Regions from separate parts of the Homo sapiens genome. Here region 2 is linked to region 1. The links are contacts of gene promoters, found by promoter capture Hi-C in blood cells and fetal thymus (Javierre and others, 2016). All regions are on one chromosome and are shown on one strand. Each heading gives the region's core, a stretch centred on a gene start or on the middle of the fragment in contact. The rest is flanking DNA. Distances are from core to core; before and after follow the strand shown. Region 1 holds the start of ASTL (astacin like metalloendopeptidase). Region 2 overlaps SNRNP200 (small nuclear ribonucleoprotein U5 subunit 200).

Region 1 (4,817 bases), core at 1,713-4,212:
TAGTTTGACAGTCCGGGGGCTGGTTTTGCTTCACCTTGCTGTATACAGTTTTCTTGTCTGTAAAATGGAGTTTCATTGTTAGCCCCCACCTCTGAGGATGTAGACTTACACAAGTCAATCCATGTAGTGCCTGCTCATAGTAGGCGCTCCGAAAATGTTAGCTAACTACGGCCCTAGGAGTGAGGTTGATCTGATGTGCCGGTGTGCACATGCGAGGTGTGCATCTGGACCAGGATGGACACTCATAACGGCTGGGCCTGGGGTCCACTCAGCCTTGTGCCTGGAGCCTGGCACAGGTGGGCGCTCACTCTGTGAGGCCGAATGAAGGGTGATTCTTGTTCCCACTGCTGTCTGAGGGGTGGGGTGAGCCACTCCAGTGTGAACTGGGCAGAGCCGGGGTTGCTATTCTGCCTTCCTTAGGAGCTGAGTAGGCATCTGTTGGGACCCACTTGTACCCCCATGCCCAGCTTGGGTGGGTGGGGGACATCTGGGGCTCTAAGTCATAGGGGACTTCACACCACACAGCCTCATCTCACACACAGCTGCACTGGTGGCTGAGGCCTCTGCCCACCCCCCACCCTTGGCCCTACCCCATCCCACCCTACCCAGCCCCAATCCCCTCTCCTTCCTTCCCCGTGCTTTTTATAGCTTGTCATCTAGCAAACTGCCCTTCTCTTTCTCTCTCTTTTCCTCCTTTCCTTCTTTCCTATTTATTAAATTTTTAAACTTTTAATTGTGGTAAAAAATGCAACATAAAATTGGTCATCTTTACCATTATCAAGTGTTTAGTAAAGTGTATTCACATCGTTGTGCACAGATATCCAGAGCTTTTTCATCTTGCGAACCTGAAATCCTATACCTATTAAATGATAACTCCCCTCCCCAGTCCCCAGCCCCTTGTGAGCTCCGTTCCACTTTCCGTCCCTGTGCACTGGGCTACTCTAGACACCTCTTGGAGGTAGAAGCATGCAGGATTTGTCTTTTTGTGACTGGCTTGTTTCGCTCAGCAAAATATCCTCAGACCAACTGCATGTCCTAATAAAGACTCTGTTTCTCTCCCCAAGCAGGGTGATTATTTCTTATCATTATTTTAATTCTTTTGTTTTTTGAGACAGAGTCTCACTCTGTTGCCCAGGCTGGAGTGCAGTGGCACAATCTTGGCTCACTGCAACCTCTGCCTCCTGAGTTCAAGGGATTTCTGGCTAATTTTTGTATTTTTAGTAGAGATGGGGTTTCACCGTGTTGGCTAGGCTGGTCTCGAACTCCTGACCTCAAGTAATCTGCCTGCCTTGGCCTCCCAAAATGCTGGGATTACAGGCATGAGCCACTGCGCCCGGTCTACTTTATTTTTTTTTACTGAACATTCATCTTTTTTTTTGAGATGGAGTCTCACTCTGTCCCCCGGGCTAGAGTGCAGTGGCGCGATTTTGGCTCATTGCAAACTCCACCTCTGGGTTCAAGTGATTCACCTGCCTCAGCCTCCCGAGTAGGTGGGATTACAGGTGCCCGCCACCGTGCCCAGCTAATTTTTGTATTCTTTTAGTAGAGATGGGGTTTCACCATGGTGGCCAGTCTGGTCTTGAATTCCTGACCTCGTGATCCACCTGCCTTGGCCTCCCAAAGTGCTGGGATTATAGGCGTGAGCCACCGCGCCCTCCTGAACACTCATCTTAAGTGGTCAGCCTTGTGCATTTGTTTTTTGATGGGTCCTATTCTTTATTTTACTTATTTTTTCTAGGTTTACTGAGGCATAATCGACAAATAAAAGTAGTATATGTTTAAGTATACAACGTGATGTTTTGACATATGCATACCTTGTGAAATGATGACCACAACAAGCTAACTAGCATATCCATGGTGTGTATCCTGACATCTGTCAATACCCTGCCCTGGCAGCAGGGCGTCTGCCTCCATCATGGTCTCCCTGTGATTCTGATTCCTATCTTTGGAGAAGCTCTGGATTCCAGGCACAGTGGGAATGCTGAAAGGTCCTTGTGGACAATAGCTATTCTTCTTGGCTCTGTCGCTTCCCTTCACTGGGTGCAGGTGACTGTGGGGGTGTCCCCAAATGCTGCCCAGCGCTGACATGCTCCGCCTCTGGGATTTCAATCCAGGTGGGGCCCTGAGTGACCTGGCTCTGGGGCTCAGGGGTATGGAGGAGGGGGGATATAGGTAAGGAGTTTAAATTTCCAAATCTGTGAAATGGGAATAAATACTGACTGATCATGCCAGCTGCTGTGGGATTAGGGGGTGGACTCCCTGCGAGGCTCTGGGCATCTGGGGGTTCCACCTTTCCCACATGGCAGGCTTTCTAGGGTGCTGCACACTGTTCAGTTTGTGAAATTTCCTGGAGCCCTGTGCTTGTGATAGTGAACTTTTCTATATGTGTACTAAAATAAAAGCTTGTGAAAGTGCAGTGACCTTTTCCTCCTTCCGGAGATACACGGGGGGCGCCCCAGGGTCTCAGGCAGCTTTCCCCATGTCTAAGCACAGGCCGGGGTAGGAAAGGGGGTCTCCCTCGCTGGAGGAATAGGTCTATACCTGGGCTGGGGCCTCAGCTAGGCCTGGAGCAACTTTCTGCGATGTTTCTCTGCCCCCTGGAGGCAGGAAGGAACCTCAGAAGAGCCACACTCCCAAGCGGGCCCCTCCTGTCTTTCACCTGCTACAGCCAGGAAGGGGACTGGGCTGGGGTGGGAACCACAGGTAGGCATCGGAGGGGCTGCCAGTAGACCTGGTTTGGGTGGCGCTGCCGGTAGAGCTGGTTGGGGCGGGGCTGCAGGTGGAGCTGGTTGGGGCGGGGCTGCAGGTGGAGGTGGTTGGGGCGGGGCTGCAGGTGGAGATGGTTGGGGCGGGGCTGCAGGTGGAGGTGGTTGGGGCGGGGCTGCAGGTGGAGGCGGTTGAGGGGAGCAAGGTGGGAGGTGGAGCAGCTGCTATTTAAGAGGGGGTGGTGGTGCCGGTTCTGCAATTAGGTTACTGTGTCTTGCTGGGGCTTGGTCTTGTTTGCTGAAGGGGCAGCAGGGCTCTACCATGGAGGGTGTAGGGGGTCTCTGGCCTTGGGTGCTGGGTCTGCTCTCCTTGCCAGGTAAGCTGGCTGCCTGTCCCTCCTGCTGCTGGCTCCAGCCTGGAGAAAGCTGGGGAGAGGCTAGAAGGTTGTGGCTGGAGCCTGCAGGGATTGTAGCTGAGCTCAGTAGCTCAGAGCACAGAGCTCTCCAGGGTTATTCTAGAAGTCAGCTCCTGGGGGGCCAAGGGGAGGCCTCCTGAAGGCCCTGGAAGCAGAGGGCCTGCCTGGCAGAAGATAAGTGTTGTGCCCCAGGCCTACTTGTCTTGGGGTGGGGGTAGGCTGTAAGTCCCCACTCCAGCCTGGTCAGGCAGGGAGTCATCCAGGCTGAGCCCATTGTCCAAGAGCCTGGGCTGAGAGAGAGTCATAAGGTGGGGTCTGAGGCTGGCCCTGCCCGTCACGGGCGTCAGAACCCGAGGTCTGTCCTGCCTCCTTCCTTCCTGCCCCTCCTCTACCTCATAGGTGGGGCACATGGTCCCTTTTGGTCCCCCTAAGGGAGCTCCTTCCCTGAGGTCATCTAGACCTTGGCACCAGTTGGGGTTGAGCAGGGAGGCTGGGAAGGCTCCTTGGCTTTGTGCTGGAGCCTACTCTTCCTAGGGACTGAGTCTTACCGTCTGATCCCCCACACCCACCCCATGTCCTGCTGTCTGGTCTCACCGGTGGGTGCTCCAGGCATCTGTGTATGCCCCTGTCTGTCTGGACCAGGTGTGATCCTAGGAGCGCCCCTGGCCTCCAGCTGCGCAGGAGCCTGTGGTACCAGCTTCCCAGATGGCCTCACCCCTGAGGGAACCCAGGCCTCCGGGGACAAGGACATTCCTGCAATTAACCAAGGTGAGGGCACTACATCTTCTCACGGCCTGGAGGGGCACGACGTTATGTAGTGTGAAAACCACACCGAACACTCAGAAATGCAGAGCCTGGGAGGAAATGGACCAGCTTACTCTGGGCTCTAAGTGGTTTTTAAGAGATGGAGTGGTGTTGCTATATTGCCCCGGCTGGTCTTGAACTCCTGGCCTTAAGTGATCTTCCTGCCTCTGCCTCCCGAGCAGCTGGGACTACAGGTGTGAATGGGTGGAAATTCTATGGGCAATTGCTTAAGTCTACTCTTTCTTTTTGTATCTTTCTTAGTGGATTGTTACTTTTATAAGAAAAACCAAGCTCTTAAAGGGCCTGGGCGTGGAGCTAAGCGGTTAGTCGCAGTCTGAGATTGTCAGCCACCCTGTGCAGGACTGTCTGCAGGTGTGATTAAGAAGTCTGAAGCTCAGCTGGGTGCGGTGGCTCTCGCCTGTAGTCCCAGCACTTTGGGAGGCTGAGGCGGGCAGATCATGAGGTCAGGAGATCGAGACCATCCTGGCTAACACAGTGAAACCCCGTCCCCACCAAAAATACAAAAATTAGCCGGGCGTGGTGGCGGGCGCCTGTAGTCCCAGCTACTCAGGAGGCTGAGGCAGGAGAATGGCATGAACCTGGGAGGCGGAGCTTGCAGTGAGCTGAGATTGCGCCACTGCACTCCAGCCTGGGCGACAGAGCATCTCACAAAAAACAAAAAACAAAAGTCAGGCTCAGGGCCTTGCTGTCTGGGGATGTCAGCTGAGGAATGAGGGTGTATAAATAGCCTGAACAAAGCCAGTTGAAATGGAGACTGGAGTTCAGATGTTGGAGCAATGAGGGCTGAAGCACTCAGGGTTGAAGCAATCGGGCTGAACAGGGGACAACCTTGCCCTAAGGGTGGGTGAGATCCTACCAGATGTGGTAGCCA
Region 2 (4,660 bases), core at 1,574-4,073, 150 kb before region 1:
TGGTTTAATTTCTCAGCTCCAGGACTGTGAACTTGGTGGGTGCATTCCCTTAAAAGTCTTTCCAGCCGTGTTTAGGCTTCCTCTGAGCCTGCACACATTCCTGCCCTTGCCCCTCTCCAGGACCTTGGCTTCTGGTGGTGATGGTGCAACTTCTGCTTCCTGCTGCAGGTGCCCTGGGGCTGTGAGTATCTCGTGACTGTAGCAAACTGTGGCTTCTCCTTAGGTGCTGGTGTTTGTCCACTCCCGGAAGGAGACTGGAAAGACAGCCAGGGCCATCCGGGACATGTGCCTAGAAAAGGACACTCTGGGTCTGTTTCTGAGGGAGGGCTCAGCCTCCACAGAAGTCCTGCGAACAGAAGCTGAGCAGTGCAAGGTGAGGAGGGGCCAGCTGGGTTCTCTCATTCCTACCTGGCAGCTGTGTCCATCTCAGGCCCCAGACAGCTCCTCTAGGACTGTACTGTGGTATTGTTGTTTCCCATGGGTTAAGGTTGATTGTCTGGATGTGATTATTACTATTCCACATAATAGTTAAGGGGCAGGGTCTCATGGGAGGAGATTTCCTTAGTCCTTGGATGAGTCCTACAGGAAGGCTCGCCTCATCCCCGGTTCTTTGTTCCACAGAACCTAGAGCTGAAGGATCTTCTGCCTTATGGCTTTGCTATTCATCACGCAGGCATGACCAGGGTTGACCGAACACTCGTGGAGGATCTTTTTGCTGATAAACATATTCAGGTGAGGGGGTGCAAAGCGTTTGGAGGAGCAGGTGGGACATACTTCAGAAGATGGGCAATGTCAAGTTTGTGCCATGTTTGCTCCTGGTACTTTATTGCTTCTGGCCCAGCTAGCCCAGGTCAGAGGGTTGTGGTGGACACAATAAATAGAACCTTATGCTACTCTCCCAACTCTTCCCACCTTGCTTGAGTTTAGGATAGTCTGAGAAGCATAGTGAAGCAAGCACTTTGGTGACTTCAGATAGCTCCAAACAGTGTCTCATGGGGGCACGCGTGCCCTTGTCGTTCCCTCTTTCCGGATAGGCTCTGTTTTACCTTTTCTAGTAACTTTAAGGTTGTTTAATACAAGTCTGCACTTGTGCCTCTGGAACCTTGAAATGTTCATTACTGAATAGATGAGGAACCCAAGGAAACCTTTCCTCTTTATTCTGGTGTCACATTGACAAGTACTGGGACCCCACGCGCCCTACCGGCTAGTCCTGAGAGAAGCTCTGAGGCCAACTGCCTAGAGAAGCCAGGGATATTAACCCCTGGTGATGGCATCTGTTCTCCTCATTACCTTGTTTTGCCTCTGTAGGTTTTAGTTTCCACAGCAACTCTAGCTTGGGGTGTGAATCTCCCTGCACATACAGTCATCATCAAAGGCACCCAGGTGTACAGTCCAGAGAAGGGGCGTTGGACAGAACTGGGAGCACTGGACATTCTGCAGGTACAGAGCCTTTTGAGTTTATTCTCAGCAGGGATCAGTATCCTTGCCTGAAATGCAGGGATGCTGGAAAGCTAGCAGATCAGAGGTCTAGTTCTGTAATGTAGATACCTGCATCAAAATTCAGACATTCTCTTGACATAGCATTCTTGGTTCGCTGTCTCTGATCTAGATGCTGGGACGTGCCGGAAGACCCCAGTATGACACCAAGGGTGAAGGCATACTCATCACATCTCATGGGGAGCTACAGTACTACCTGTCCCTCCTCAATCAACAACTTCCTATTGAAAGCCAGATGGTTTCAAAGCTTCCTGACATGCTCAATGCAGAAATCGTGCTAGGAAATGTCCAGAATGCCAAGGTAGGGGAGGACTGCTTGTTGTGCTTCATGCTTTCCCCGCAGACACCAAGGCACCAGGAGTGGGTCGGTCCCTATTGTGCTGCGGGCCAGCAGCGTCCGAGGCCTTCCATCCCTGCACCCACATCTTGGGTCTGGCAGATAGTTCCCCTTGTTACCAAGATCTTAGAAGACGCTTAGATCTTTTTAATAATGAAATGCTAAAAACATTCAGAATACGATGTAATATGCATCCTTGTAGTTGGGAATTAATTTCTAAGCAATTCATGGGAGCCTGTCATTTGGACATCAAGAGTTTCTCCATGCTAAGAACCATGAGCTGTGTCTTGTAGGATGCGGTGAACTGGCTGGGCTATGCCTACCTCTATATCCGAATGCTGCGATCCCCAACCCTCTATGGCATCTCTCATGATGACCTCAAGGGAGATCCCCTGCTGGACCAGCGCCGACTAGATCTGGTTCATACAGCTGCCCTGATGCTGGACAAGAACAATCTGGTCAAGTACGACAAGAAGACGGGCAACTTCCAGGTGCGTGGGGTGAGGGTTTTGAGGCAAAGGTCTCAGCAAAAGTTGTTGGCCCAGGAAAAAATTTTTCAGATTGCTCTCTTGATGTGAGTACTGCCTATCTAATCACCTGTTGCTTAGAACAGCAGAAAAATGGGTAGCTTTTCCCATAACTTGAGGTGGATAATTCAGCTGTCTTGTCCGTGCAGACATCATTTCACTATGGGTCAGCTTATTCTGCTGTTTTTCTTCATGTGCCTGGGCCTGGCACTTGTACTGCTGTGACTTCATCCAGTTGTCCTATTAGGACAATAATGACATTGGGTCATATACTTTACCAAAAAAAAAGTACAAAAAACCTATAGGACAGTAACTTATGGTCCACAGTTAGAGGTTGGAGCTCATTAATAGTCAGCACTGGATTGAGTCTACCTTCTCTCCAGGTGACAGAACTGGGCCGTATAGCCAGCCACTACTACATCACCAATGATACAGTGCAGACTTACAACCAGCTGCTGAAGCCCACCCTGAGTGAGATTGAGCTTTTCAGGGTCTTCTCATTGTCCTCTGAGTTCAAGAACATCACAGTGAGAGAGGTGAGCCTATGCAGCATGATGGGGCGGGGAGTTGGTGCTCACCAAGTCACTGAATGGTGTCCCTCCTCGGCCACAAGGCTTTCCCTTGACCTTTTCCTCCTTGTGGCAGGAGGAGAAGCTGGAGCTGCAGAAGTTGCTGGAGAGGGTGCCTATCCCTGTAAAGGAGAGCATTGAGGAACCCAGTGCTAAGGTGAGCTCCTCTCCTCTTTGCTTTGATAAGGATGAGGATTAAGTGGTTTTCATAATCTTCTAAAAGATGAACCTTGAATTTGGGTTCATGTGTGGTTTCCTGCTCAGTTCTCCTAGTTTTTGCAGCCTTCTCGCATGTTCTTTTTATATGAAATAACAATTATTTAGTATTTGTAAATCAAGACCTGTAGCAAATCTCACCTGGCCTGGATGCTCAGAGCAGAAATGTAATTCCCTTTCTTGGACTGTTCAGTGATTGGTCTCCTGCTGGCTGATTTTGCTTCTTTACAGATCAACGTTCTTCTGCAAGCCTTCATCTCACAGCTGAAATTGGAGGGCTTTGCACTGATGGCTGACATGGTGTATGTCACACAGGTGAGAGCGGAGTTGTATGGCAGCTGTGAGAAGGGGCCTGAACAGTTCAATCCCTGTGTGCTGTGTGCATCCTGGGGAAAGGAGGCCCGACCCTAGTGAGATGGGAGGAGTGCTTAGTTCTGCTCTTGCCGGGTAGTTGGTTGGTGCATGTGTGGTACAGCCACTCTGTAGTATACATCTTGAGCACGTGGGAAAGGTAAGACCTTAAGAGGGAATGCTTCGAGGCTCCACGGGCCCTCAGAGAGACAGGAAGAGCCACAGCACGCAGTGTCTGCTTCCCAGCAGCAAAGTGATTTCCCACTGTTGCTGCACAGCTCATAAATAAATCCAAAAATGGCACAGGGTTTTATTAGCTGCTCTTCATCTTTACCTCTAAGAACAGGTCACTGGTACCCTCAACTCTTCCTAGAACTCTAAATGCTAAATGACTCAAAAGCTTTAAAATCATGCAGTGAATGTTAGGTTAAAATGTTGTGCAGTGACCTTGAGCCGCAGCACTCTTCTAATTGTTCCCCATCCGGCAAGCATCTACTATATGGAACGGAGAAAGGCGTAAAGACAGAGGGGACTTTGCCTTTGAGTTAGGGTGGGTGGTTGTGTCAGAGCTGGAGGTAATGAAACCGTGTGTAGAGTGGCTCATGAGGCCTGGGGATAGTCGAGACTTAACAGTGGGAATGCTGCTTCTTTGCTTAGTCGGCTGGCCGGTTGATGCGAGCGATATTTGAAATTGTCCTGAACCGAGGTTGGGCACAGCTTACAGACAAGACCCTGAACCTCTGCAAGATGATCGACAAACGCATGTAAGGACCCAGTGAGCTGGATGCTGGTCACCATGAGTGGGGGTCCCCAACCCAAGGGTCTGATGGGAAAGCCTCAGGGTGCATCTGATCTCCAGACCTGACATCGGAAGTATGACCTGAACCTTGGTGCACATTGAGAAGAGGGAAGGCCCTCTGTGGTGGAGGCCAGGGCTGGCACAGTGTCAGTGTCTGCCTTTAATGACTGTGTTTTGTGTAGTCACTGCTAAACTATTGGAAGCCATGAAGTGGGTGGTTTGTCACATCCCTGCAGAAGGGACCAACAGCTTTGCCTCCTTCCTGGATAGGTGGCAGTCCATGTGTCCTCTGCGCCAGTTCCGGAAACTCCCTGAGGAAGTAGTGAAGAAGATTGAGAAGAAGAATTTCCCCTTTGAGCGTCTG

The links. The method cuts DNA at HindIII sites, captures the fragments that hold promoters and counts their contacts. A CHiCAGO score of 5 or more calls a contact.
Region 2: a contact is called between a fragment that was not itself captured here and the fragment with the promoter of ASTL in region 1, in 4 of 17 cell types (M1 macrophages, M0 macrophages, naive CD8 T cells and 1 more). The highest score is 8.9, in M1 macrophages.

The regions. Positions count from the first base shown.
Region 1 is chr2:96,136,647-96,141,463 of GRCh38, reverse strand. It overlaps ASTL (astacin like metalloendopeptidase), which reads left to right and starts at 2,962. Exons shown (of 9, transcript NM_001002036.4): 1 at 2,962-3,082; 2 at 3,764-3,889. The coding sequence starts at 3,028. RefSeq lists silencers at 35-84, 2,058-2,147 and an enhancer at 3,038-3,107. The HindIII fragment of the contact is 4,955 bases long and covers 2,405-4,817 here.
Region 2 is chr2:96,287,464-96,292,123 of GRCh38, reverse strand. SNRNP200 (small nuclear ribonucleoprotein U5 subunit 200) reads left to right here. Exons shown (of 45, transcript NM_014014.5): 17 at 224-373; 18 at 622-732; 19 at 1,309-1,440; 20 at 1,610-1,798; 21 at 2,128-2,325; 22 at 2,745-2,897; 23 at 3,007-3,087; 24 at 3,378-3,461; 25 at 4,155-4,261; 26 at 4,567-4,660. Among named protein-coding and RNA genes, the nearest start is that of SNRNP200, 16 kb to the left of the region's middle. The HindIII fragment of the contact is 2,153 bases long and covers 1,747-3,899 here.